Linked DNA regions of Homo sapiens: all the other regions are linked to region 1. The links are contacts of gene promoters, found by promoter capture Hi-C in human tissues and cell types (Jung and others, 2019). All regions are on one chromosome and are shown on one strand. The core of a region is centred on a gene start or on the middle of the fragment in contact, and the rest is flanking DNA. Distances in the headings are between cores, read along the strand shown.

The links. Contacts are between HindIII fragments. The study calls those that stand out against the background at their distance.
Region 2: a contact is called between a fragment that was not itself captured here and the fragment with the promoter of TIA1 in region 1, in 2 of the 25 tissues and cell types used here (dorsolateral prefrontal cortex and hippocampus).
Region 3: a fragment that was not itself captured here is called in contact with the fragment with the promoter of TIA1 in region 1 in 1 of the 25 tissues and cell types used here (spleen).

Annotation. Positions count from the first base shown.
Region 1 is chr2:70,246,529-70,250,144 of GRCh38, reverse strand. TIA1 (TIA1 cytotoxic granule associated RNA binding protein) reads left to right here and starts at 1,517. Exons shown (of 13, transcript NM_022173.4): 1 at 1,517-1,740. The coding sequence starts at 1,715. TRG-CCC2-1 (tRNA-Gly (anticodon CCC) 2-1) reads left to right here and starts at 1,084; the gene lies at 1,084-1,154. RefSeq lists enhancers at 1,121-1,935, 1,936-2,751. The HindIII fragment of the contact is 19,489 bases long and covers 1-3,616 here.
Region 2 is chr2:69,931,591-69,935,711 of GRCh38, reverse strand. MXD1 (MAX dimerization protein 1) reads right to left here. Exons shown (of 6, transcript NM_002357.4): 4 at 247-361. It also overlaps a transcript of ASPRV1 not described here. Among named protein-coding and RNA genes, the nearest start is that of MXD1, 19 kb to the right of the region's middle. The HindIII fragment of the contact is 4,255 bases long and covers 1-3,971 here.
Region 3 is chr2:69,876,411-69,880,369 of GRCh38, reverse strand. It overlaps GMCL1 (germ cell-less 1, spermatogenesis associated), which reads right to left. Exons shown (of 14, transcript NM_178439.5): 14 at 1-1,461. The coding sequence ends at 1,366. Among named protein-coding and RNA genes, the nearest start is that of SNRNP27, 16 kb to the left of the region's middle. The HindIII fragment of the contact is 5,483 bases long and covers 1-3,959 here.

The DNA.
Region 1 (3,616 bases), core at 268-2,767:
GAAAAAGTTCCACATGTATTTGGTGTAAATTGAATAAATTACCATAAGTGGCATTGATGGATATTCAGGTTACTCCATTTTTTTCTACTGTAAACAATGCTGCAGTTGTATCTTGGCACATAAATCTTTATAAATTAATTGTTTTATTTCTGTAGGATAGATTCCTAGACATAGGATTACTTTAGTGACATATATATATAATAAGCAATGTGAAATGCATACAGAGTATACTGAATCACATTTCAGAGCTCTAATTTCTCTGCCTCCTAAAGTTGGACTGAAGTTTATGTATCTTTTGACTTGTTTACTTTTAAGATTCTTGTGACCAATTTGCATTAAATAGCTGGGGTTTTTTGTTTGTTTCTTTGTTTGTTTTTTGAGACGGATCCTCGTTCTGTTGCCCAGGCTGGAGTGCAATGGCAAGATCTCGGCTCACTGCAATCTCCACCTCCCAGATTCAAGGATTCTCCTGCCTCAGCCTCCTGAGTAGTTGGGATTACGGGCCCCCACCACCACATCCAGCTAATTTTTGTATTTTTAGTAGAGACAGGGTTTCGCCATGTTGGTCAGGCTGGTCTCGAACTCCTGATCTCAGGTGATCCGCCCGCCTCAGCCATCCAAAGTGCTGGAATAACAGGCGTGAGCCACTGCCCCCGGCCTAAACAGCTATTTCTTAAATGCTTTTCAATGTGCAATCAATACACGGAAGAAATGCAAATATAAATAAAAATCTGGCATCTGGAAATATCCTCCCCGCGCTGAAAAATCTGGCTAGCACCAACGACGCAAATTCTTAATAAAATCCTTACTTTTTTAAGTAAAACTTTTTTTCTTTTTTCTTATTTCTTAAGTAAACATTTTAAATTGAAATTTTTTTTCTGTACAGAGAAAGTTGAAACATCCATTCCTATGTTTGGGATGAGAAAAGATAAATTATTTATGTTATTGGAAAACAGAAGATTACAGACTGTCAATAAACTTTTACTTTTAAATGAATAAATAATACATGACAATTCTTTTCACATGAGAGAACGTCTGCTTCTATTTCCTCCTAAAATACTGTGGCGGCTGGGCATGTCAACAGCGCCGCTGGTGTAGTGGTATCATGCAAGATTCCCATTCTTGCGACCCGGGTTCGATTCCCGGGCGGCGCATAGGCGTTTTGCTTCTCGCTCGCTAAAAACCAGATAGCTTGAAGAGTCTTTATATATCTTTCCAAAAGAGGAAAGATTTAGGCTTTTTACTGTCCCTGAAGGTTTCCACTCCCTCATAATTCGCGGTCGAAACACTCGAATCCGCAGCCAGAAGACAAAAAAGTTCACGCAAATCGTGAAGTAGTTAATACTTGCGCCTGCGCAGTCTGAGGCGTCCCTCGCGTCGGGTGGAAGAGCGGCTGCGCAACAAGTGAACCTATGGATTAAGGTGTAGCCGGGCGGCCCGGAGGTTGAGAGTGCAAGATTATTCTGCGCCTGCGCGGCCCGGGTAACTTTGCTGGCTGCTCCTAGGCTCCCGGCTCGCCGCCATCTTGTATTGGGGTTTCATTGTTCCCGCTGGGCCGGGCGGTTTAGTGTAATTGCCGCCGGAGGAGGAGGCGGAGTAACCTCTGGTCAGCCGAGAAACCCCACTATCCTGTAGCCATAACCGCTTAAACGATTTGGGAGGTAGTGAAGGGCAGGGAGCTGGACCTGGAGGCGCCGCCGCGACAGCAGCAGCCATGGAGGACGAGATGCCCAAGACTCTGTGAGTCTGGGGCAGCGATGAGGGAGGCGGGATGGTGGTCGTCCCGGAGGGAAGGCCTCGGCCCTGCGCCGCTCCCAGCCTATTGTTCTCCGTGGACACCGCGATATCGTGGTTTTTGTTTCCTTAGCATGCACCTGGATGCTTACAACCAAGACCCAATCTGTGAGGACGAGGTGAAGGGAGACGGGGCTCAACCCTCTCAATTAATCCCTTCACTTTAGCAACACCATTGCATGACCTTTGCTCTCGCCACGGGCCCTCTGTGGTCTTAGACCTGGAGAAAAGACTTTAATTCAGACCTCTTTTTAGAACTCGTCGAACCTTCCTTTTGTCCTATGCTTTCTTTCCTTTTCCCGCTTCTCCCCCTTTTTGATTAACCTCTTCTTATCTTTACAGCCGTCTCCCTTTAATTTTACTTTTGATTTCCTACTGAAATTCTTCCTTTCATTTTCTTCTCGGTGATAAGATTTTTTTTCCTCCTCGAGGGTGCTTGTACTCATTTTCAGTGCAGTAAACTTTATTCTTGCAGTTGCCAATTGGAAAAAAGCCAAGCATTTTTCTTTAACCTCTGGCTTTCCTTCTGTAGCACCCACCGACCAAAAAGCCTAACCAGACACCCCAAGGATTTGGAAATCTCACCCAGAAGGAATATATCAATTGAGGGGAAATGGATTTAATATTATTTTTATAGTCGTTTACTACTGTTGTGATTGACATGGTGTTGAACGAGCGGGCTGTAAATGCCCTAACATATTTACAGAGAATTTTTAGAGATAGCGTTAAATTACCGGAGCGTGGATATTTTCTTTGTCGTGTGGCTTCCCCAACTGCGTTCTTTGTTTTTCGAGGTATTATCGGATGAGTTGATCCTGCCTTTGTTGGCATTTCTCGGAAGAAGAAAAGCTCAATGAGTTCTTGACATAGCTTTTTGTTTTTCTTGGATGACATAGCTTTTTGTTTATATTCTTGGAATACTGGCAGTTTGAGAGCTCCATGCATTAAAAATGCAATTTTAGGTTTCTCTTTGCAGCTCTCTAATAAAGTTGCTCTGAAGTACGATGTAATTGTTTTTTTACCTCCAAAATTTTTCCACTTTTAAGTTGCTATTTCTTGTCTATATTGGAAATGTGGTTACACTTGTTTTCTTAATAGATTGTCAGTTAATCTGTTAGTAACCTTGAAATTTCTTTTCTCTATTCCTGAGGCTCAGAAAGTATCTTTTCAGTAGGACGTAGCAATTAGTGCATGACCTTTGTTTTAGGAAAGATTGTATCTGTAGATGAATACTCCCTAAAAAACTACTAGCCTCACGGTGTTGGTGGAATCTCTTCCCTCTTGCCTCTTAGCTATGACAGTCATCAGCATTTTGGGTTAAGGCACTGCTCGTGTTTTATAATGTAAACTTAATATTCTCAGTATTAGTTTGAAAATGTTTAATTTTAGAAACTGCAGAAGTATCTGACCACTTAACTTTTTAACTTTTTAATTTTGTTTTTACTTTTTAATTTTTTGAGATGGAGTCTCACTTTGTCACCCAGGCTGCAAGGCTAGAGTGCAGTGATGCGATTTCGGCTCACTGCAACCTCCACCTCCTGGGTTTAAATGATTCTCCTGCCTCACCCTCCCAAGTAGCTGGCACTACATGCGGGCACCACCATGCCCGGCTAATTTTTGTATTTTTAGTAGAGATGGGGTTTCACCATGTCGGCCAAGCTGGTCTCGAACTCCTGACCTCAGGTGATCCGCACACCTCGGCCTCCCAGAGTGCTGGGATTACAGGTGTGAGCCACTGCGCCTGGCCTGTCCTCAACTTTTAACTATTACATTTATTACTTATTTTGCCTTGTATCCCTCACTAATACACCCCATCCAAGAA
Region 2 (4,121 bases), core at 595-3,094, 310 kb after region 1:
ATCACGGACTCCTGAATTTCTGGCTTGTACAACTGGATGGAGAGTTGGATGGACCATTTAACCTCTGGTGCATGGGAGTGAGAAACACTCAGTTGGGTTTTGAATATGTTGCATTTGAGGTACCTGTGATTCATCCAATAGCTAGACTGGAGGAGTTCAGGGGAGAGGACTGTCCTGGAGATGTAACAACAGACAAACCCTCACTGAACAGGTAAAGATAAAGCAGCATCCCAACAATACACTTACCTTTATGTGCAATTTGGCTTTTGTTAATAAACTCAACGTAGTGTGTCGACTTGATTCGGGTCCAAGTGGCACCAGCCCCTTCAACTTCTCCAGGCACAAGCGAAGATGAGCCCGTCTATGAAAACAAGACCACAGTAGCATTTGAGAGTTTCACAGTGGGCCAGAAGCACCCCAGGCAGAATGAGTTCTCAAAGAGTGTGAAGTTGCCCAGGCCTTGCGATGGCAAATGCTACCAATGACCTTTTGCTGAATAAACATATTTTGAACCAGACAACTCTGGTGAAAACCAATGAGAAGCAAAATCCAAGGTTTTCGAAGCTAAGTCTATTGATAATACAAGTGCTGGGGTAGGGAATAATATCTGCTATTATATAGTCATTCACATGTGTAAATACTATATACAGTAATGGTCCCTGACTCATGATGGTTCAACTTACAATTTTTTAAATTTATAATGAGTTTATTGAAGTATTAAATGCATATTAGACTTGGGATGTTTTTTATTTATGATGGGCTTCTTGAGACATAACCCCATCATAAGTCAAGGAGCATATATATCTGTGGAGTTATTTGTTGAAGCTTTATTTGTAATAGCAAAGATTGAAACAACCCAAATGACCACCCAGGAGGGAACTGGTTAAATAAATTATGCTACATCCACACCGTGTAGTACTATGTAGCTATCAAAAAGAATGAGAATGTGCTTTATGTCCTATTAGGAAAGATTTTCCAGATATATTGTTAAGTGGAGAAAAGCAAGATTCCAAACTGTGAGTATACCATGCTATCTTAAAGATGGAGGAAAACAAGAATCTATATTCATGTTTTCTTGTATGTAGACAAACTCTGGAATGACACATAAGAAACTGGCTGGGCAGGGAGAAGGCAAGGAACAGTCAGACAGAGATAAGGAAGGAAGTGATGGGGGTTTTTACTGAGTCATTTTTTATACTTTTTGTTCTTGGAGTATGTCAGACTGATGCAATGGCACGGAGTGGGAGAGGGAGAAGGGCTGGATGAAGCAGCAGCCACGGCAACTGACTGAAGAGAGAGCACGAGAGTTGCTCCAACTGAGAAATTTACATTTCCTTGAAATGGTTTGTGCTTTATTCTAGAACCTGGAAAATTCTATGAATGTAAGAAGCAGCTGAGATTTGGGGGTTTTGCTTAAGCTTACCACCTCCTTAAAGCCTTCCCAAGCCATCCTAGCTCACAGTGATTCCTCTATTTTCTAAGCACCACTTAACTGTTTATATTATTCACTGGGAAGTTCACTGTACTGCCTGACTTGTTTCATATTTCTTACTTAACCATTCATTGCAGTCTCCTTAGAAAGTCAGGATTGCAGCTTAATCATTGCTGTGCTGTCACCGTGCCTCAAACACACACATGCTTAATAAGTGTTTGCTGAATGGATTATGTCATCTATTCAACTAGACTTTAAGCTTCTAGAGGACAGAGTCCATCTCTACTGCATCTTTGCACCTTCAGCAGTGCTCAGAGTCTTCAGGTTTTAGATAACATTCATTGCCCACACACAACCTACTTGGAGCAGAGTTCCCTGGGGTCTAGGAGGCTCCCCTCCAGCTGAATTGGGAAACAATGCAATGCCTTATAGGTTTGCCCTTTTTCCTCTTAAGAATTGTACTGTAATAGCAAAAGTTGAAAATATAGACCAAAGAAAGGAAATGGCTTCAGAAAGCTATAGGACAGGTGAATATGCATGATATTAATGTAAGAAGTCAATTCACACTCTCCAGGGAGACTTCAGGATGTTCCCCTAAGGCAGGGCTAGTAAGCAAGGCATTAGACTTCCTTCCTTCTGAGCCTCCTGCCTCTTCTAGGTCATGAGGAAGTTGTCCTAAACTCTCCAAGGGTGCTCTAAGGCTTGGCAAGCTTGGGGAGTACAGCATTCATTTCTGAGCTAGGAAGAGGTAATAGCACAAGGGCTTTACTATTTTGTAAGTCTTTCACTTCTTCTGAAAAACCTGTCCATGTGGCAGAGTCAGAGCAAAGACTCATGTTACAGGTGTGCTCCTCCCACTACTGCATGTGGTGGGGACCAGGGAAGGGAAGAAAACTTGTATGTAAAATATACTTGTTCATCTTGGATAATATTCTTCAAAAAGAGCCATGAAAATAGATCATGTTATTAGAAACACTATGAGAAAGTATAATTTATACATTTATAAATTTGTCTATTTCTTGCCATAAAACTTATAGACTAATTTTCTTTTTTTGTTTTTTTTTTTTTTTTTTTTTTTTGAGACAGAGTTCTTGCTCTTGTCGCCCAGGCTGGAGTACAGTGCCGTGATCTCAGCTCATGGCAACCTCTGCCTCCCAGGCTCAACAGATTCTCCTTCTTCAGCCTCCTGAGTATCTGGGATTACAGGCGCCCGCCACCACGTCCGGCTAATTTTTGTATTTTTAGCAGAGATGGGGTTTCACCATGTTGGCCAGGCTGGTCTCGAACTCCTGACCTCAAGCAATCTGCCTGCCTCAGCCTCCCAAAGTGCTGGGATTACAGGTATGAGCTAATTTTCCAATTAGAAGAAAAAGTTCAAAAATTAAAATTATATTTAGATATTTTTCAGCCAGCTTGTTATTTGCAAAGACTGCATGATTCAGAACAGTGTCATTTTAGTACTTTTATGATGTTGGTTTATATGCAGATATGAGTGTGTGAATTTTTTTAGGAAGTTTGTCCACTGATAAAAATATAATAAAGTCATCTTTTGATGCATTGTCATTTCTAGCCTTATAGGAGTCTTGCCCAGAAAGTGCAATTTTCACTACCCAAATGTGGGTTTCCAAAGAACACTCCTAGTCGTGAAACTAGAAATAAGCCATTTGACTAATTCCAGCTGAGACTAATACTTGTTCATTCAGTGTTTTCTGGCCTAGTTCTACAAAAATAGGACCAGAATTCTTTCTGGATTTTTGCAGAGACCCAAAGCCAACTCTGTCTTTGGCAGTGTCTGCCTTGGCCTTCTCCGGCGCCTCACTGCTGCAGCCTGATGGCTGCCCCCTGCCCACATGCCACTGCCTGCAGACATCCCCACACTGGTGCCCGGGCCAACCACAGGAGAGCAATGAAATATATTAAGTAGACTCAGTTCTATCATACAGTAGTGAAATCCAATCCCTGAACCAGATAAAAAAGCAAACAGACCCCTCTGTTATGTACAGCTCCTACCAAAGCTCTCCAACCCTGACACACACACACATACACAGACACACATACAGACACACAAACTCCTGGGATCTAGAATCCCTCTGCCAGCCCTGAGTACCCACGGAGCTCCCAGATCCAAAACAAGCAGAACAAACACCCGTCTCAGCTCTCTTTTCTCAGTTCTGACTACTCCTGTGCCCTGCTGTCCCATTTTAAACCAGGTCAAACTCCCATTTGGGGAACTAGCAGGGGTTTTGCCATATATCCTCAACAGGAAGCCACCCGACACCTCAGTGTGACCCAGGAAGTTGACTCTCCTCCCATCACATCTTCTTCAGTCTTCCCTCTGTTGCCAAGAGCTACCTCCCATCTTCCTGGCACCCGGCTGCCTCTTCCTTTAGCACTGATCCACACTGCTTTGTACCTAGGCCATGGACTAACAAACTTCACCTTCTGACTCTTCAGAAACATAACTTTAATTATTCTGAATAAGCTGATATACCTTTGGTCTACAGTGGCATAAAGAAACCAATCTTTGAACTATAATAAGTCATGCTCTGAATCAAGTATGGCCCATAACTAGTAATAACAAATTTAGATACAACTATAGATTCTATTCAGTAAGTTTTAAGTATCCCAAATTTTGTTGATTTTTAATTTTTTTAAAAAATTCTGACTCAGTCACTATGCAACCAAATAT
Region 3 (3,959 bases), core at 1,417-3,916, 370 kb after region 1:
TTAATAAATTCCAAAAGTTAAAAGGAGTTGGGAAAAAAACCTAACTAGAAAGAAAAAATTTTGGTTTCAATTAAGGGGGATTTTTTGGTCCATTTTATGTAAGAGCTTACTCTTTTTCCAAATGGGCATTTATTATTTGCACAGATACATAAAAATGATTCCCATTTTAAAAACCATAATAAAAATATACATTAACCACAGAAGTACTTACTCTAACTGGAAAGAAAATGAACATGGCTATTTTCAAAACAGTAATAAACACAAAAGGTCAACATACATAAATCATGACAAGTGTACATCTCATTTTTGACAAAAATAAGTTCCATTTTTACATTAATGCTTCATCATCAGGCTCCATATTACATCCTCTGACCTTATTTACATTTACTATGAAATTTCTATTAGCATGTGTCACTCAAAGGCACTCAATTCAGAGGGTAAAAAGTCCTGAGCTTAAGTAGGAAACAAAGTTCCCAACTAAAATTTGAACATAAATAATTCTAAAGATCAGAGAATATTAAAATGTTTAAAACTATAATATCTGGTACATAAATAATTCAAAACCTAATAATAAAGGTGTACAGACTGTCAAAGAAAAGACCATGTAAGGCAAGAAATATCCTTGGAATCAAACTGATTTTTCCCTCATTCAAGATCATTTGAAGGTGCAAAGCTAACTTTCACTGTTCTTAAACTCCTAGGAAAGTCAAATTAAAAAAAATAGCAATGACAATGCTTAAGTTTTAAAAAAAGTTTATCAGCTTAGTCTCCAAAACCAGGAAGAAAATATTTAATGATTAAAAACAAGTATGACCTGGAAAGATATTAGACTAAAAGGAGGAATCACAATGAGCAGGTGAAAATGTTAAAGGAAAGCTTTCAATACACCAACTGAAAAAGGCATTTCTAATTGGCCAACCAAATTATTCTTTTAGATTATTTTAGCCAAATAAAAAGAAATTTACAGATGGATAACTGAGGTCCACTAACATAAGGTAGAAACAAAGTTTAAGCTAAAAATTAAATCTATATTTTGTTGCAGATAAATGTGAGATTTACCTACAGCAATTTTCTATTGATGCTAAATTAAAAGCATGAATTGACATCGTTCTAACAGAAATGGTTTGACAGATATTTTCTTGGCTTTAAAATGTTCTTACGCATATGCATAGAAATGCAATGAGGATAAGAATAATCTTCTGTATTGTCTGTACAGTTCATAAGGCCTTTGTCATTGTTAGTCACCTTCGATGTGAATATCAGTAGGGCCATTAAATTAAAGCTGGCCTAAAAAGTTTTCAAAGTGCTACTGTTTCCAACTGATGAAATCTTCAGTTTTCTGGATTTTCTGGGTGACGATTATTTTCAATTCTTTTTTTCTGGTGATATATACAAGAAGTTACAGCAGATATATAAAGGGAAGATCAGAAGCCTGCTGTCCAAGTTCATCACCACTTGTTCCTATAAGACAGATTTGTAGATTCAATGACAATTAGATAAAATAAAAACAAAAAACCAAACTGTTGAACTGAGTGAACCAAAGGAGATAGTGTCCTGAGTCTGAGATCCACAACTCCACTCTCCAAACTCCCACCCATTAGCTGTGTGACCTTGTCAAATGCAGCTTCCTCACTGTAAGATGGGGACAGTAAGAGTACCTGACTTAAAGGAGGATTACAAGAGATAATACACAGGGGGTTTTGCAAAGCCAGCTATCTATTAAGTACTCAATAATGGTAGTTATTTTCATTATTGCAAAAATTTCTATCAAATACTTACATATTTTGTCAACAGATACAATGTCTAGAAATACATAAACTTCTCACTGGGCTTCAATTTTTAAAAAAATTTATTTCCTTTTACAAAATTAATTAATTATTTTTAAAAATGAGATAGGGTCTTTCTATATTGCCCAAGCTGGCCTTGAACTCCTGGGCTCAAGAGATCTTCCTGCCTCATCCTCCCGCCTCAGCCTCCTGAGTAGCTGGGACTACAGGCAGGTGCCACTGTGCCTGGCTACTTGGCTTCAATTACTGATGGCCGTTGGGTACAGCAAATCACCCAGATGAAGGTCGGGAGTCATTATCATCATCAAAAAGCAGGGTTCCTACTATTGACATTTCCCACTGTCCCTATGACAAACATGTAATTTGTCTCCTGAAACATAAAATACATTATCATGGAAAAGCAATTTCAGGTTCAGTTACATCAACACACACAAGAATGCTCAGAACTCCCAGAGACAGGAGCTGACACTACACAAATATAACATCCCTGATGCTACAGATCTCTGTTTGGAACCTCATATATCCTTTACTAGAAGCATTTGGTAAATAGAATCAATCCTCAGAGTAAAAGAAGAAACACTAAAATGAGAATTCCTACGTTTTAAATGCCTGGGATATGCTCTCTGCAATAGTATGCATTAGTTACACTTTATTTATTTTGGATAAGATACTATTAAACACTGTTTAAATCCAAAGTTTTAATTTTTTACTGAGACATGTATTCCTGCATGAAGAGGAACTAAAACTAGAATATCTGTGTGACTGAAGCAGACTCACTAGACACAGCTTCTGTGTTGAGGGAACAAGAAGATAAATTTGAATAAAGAAGGTAGAGAGTACAAATGTCTCACACACACACACACACACACACACACAAACACACAATCTCTCTCTCTGTACGAGGGAAAGTGGTATTATAAAAAGACATCAGTGAACAAAATCAGGGGAGGCCATCACCTAGACTGTGCTAACAAGTGTCACCAGAGAGGAATTATGCCAAAGCATGGTTGGTCTTCAGATGCTTGAGACATCCTGAACTAGTCAAAATTTATATCAATAATCTGGGTGAAGGCACATTTACCAAATTTGTTGAGGACAAATGTTTTGATGATATGTATATCTGATGATAAAAATCAAGATTCTGTTCCATAACTAAAAGGCTCTGAGGAAGATTAGCCTTCTAGTATTTGAATACAGTTAAGATTGAGGCAGGGAAGGGTAGGTCAAAGGGCCAACTCTGGAGAAAGAAGGAAGGCACGTGGATATCACTTGGCTGAATGGATACACCAATTTTTGAATATTAAATTGTATTAATCCCCACTCTCCATTCCCAAACAGGATAGGTCGATCCGAGCTTCATCAAATCTGTTGTTTCACCTAAAGGTTCAATCTGCATCTACATTTGCATTGAAGTACCTTTATAGCAAAGTTCTATTTTCCTTATTCCATTGTGGATGGAATCTGTGGAGCCCACATATAGCAGCAGCAGAGCAGCAGCAACTTCCTAGGTCCCCATTTCTACTTCCAGACAATTAAATAAATTTCTGGGTATTTGTTGTTGTTGGTAGTGTTTTTTGTCTGTCTGTTTTTGTTTTGAGACAGGGTCTGACTCTGTCACCCAGGCTGGAGTGCGGTGGCATGATCATGGCTCATTGCAGCCTCAGCCTCCCAGGCTCAAGTGATCTTCCTGCCTCAGCTTCCAAGTAGGTGGTACCACAGGCACATGCCACCACGCCCGGCTAATTTTTCAATTTTTTGTATAGATAGGGTTTTGCTAAGTTGCCAGGGCTGGTCTTGAACTCCTGGTCTCAAGCAATCCTCTGGCCTTGGTCTCCCAAAGTGCTGGGATTACAGGCATGAGCTACCACGCCAAGCCTGCAATTTGGCTTTGATTCTCCATCCCAGCTTTTCAATGTCTCACCAGGTTACCTTTTTTGTCCATCTCTTAAATACCAGTGGTCCCTAGGGTTCTATCCTGTCATATTCTCTACACATTTCCTGTACATTATCTCATCCAATTATTATTTCTAGTTCAGGCATTACTTGTAAACTCCAAATCCATTATTCACCAGCCTATCAAATTTTCACCTTGATGCTCTCAAATTAAACATGCCCTAAACAGAATTCATCATCTCTTCACCATCACCAACACTATGTCATGTTCATTTTCCT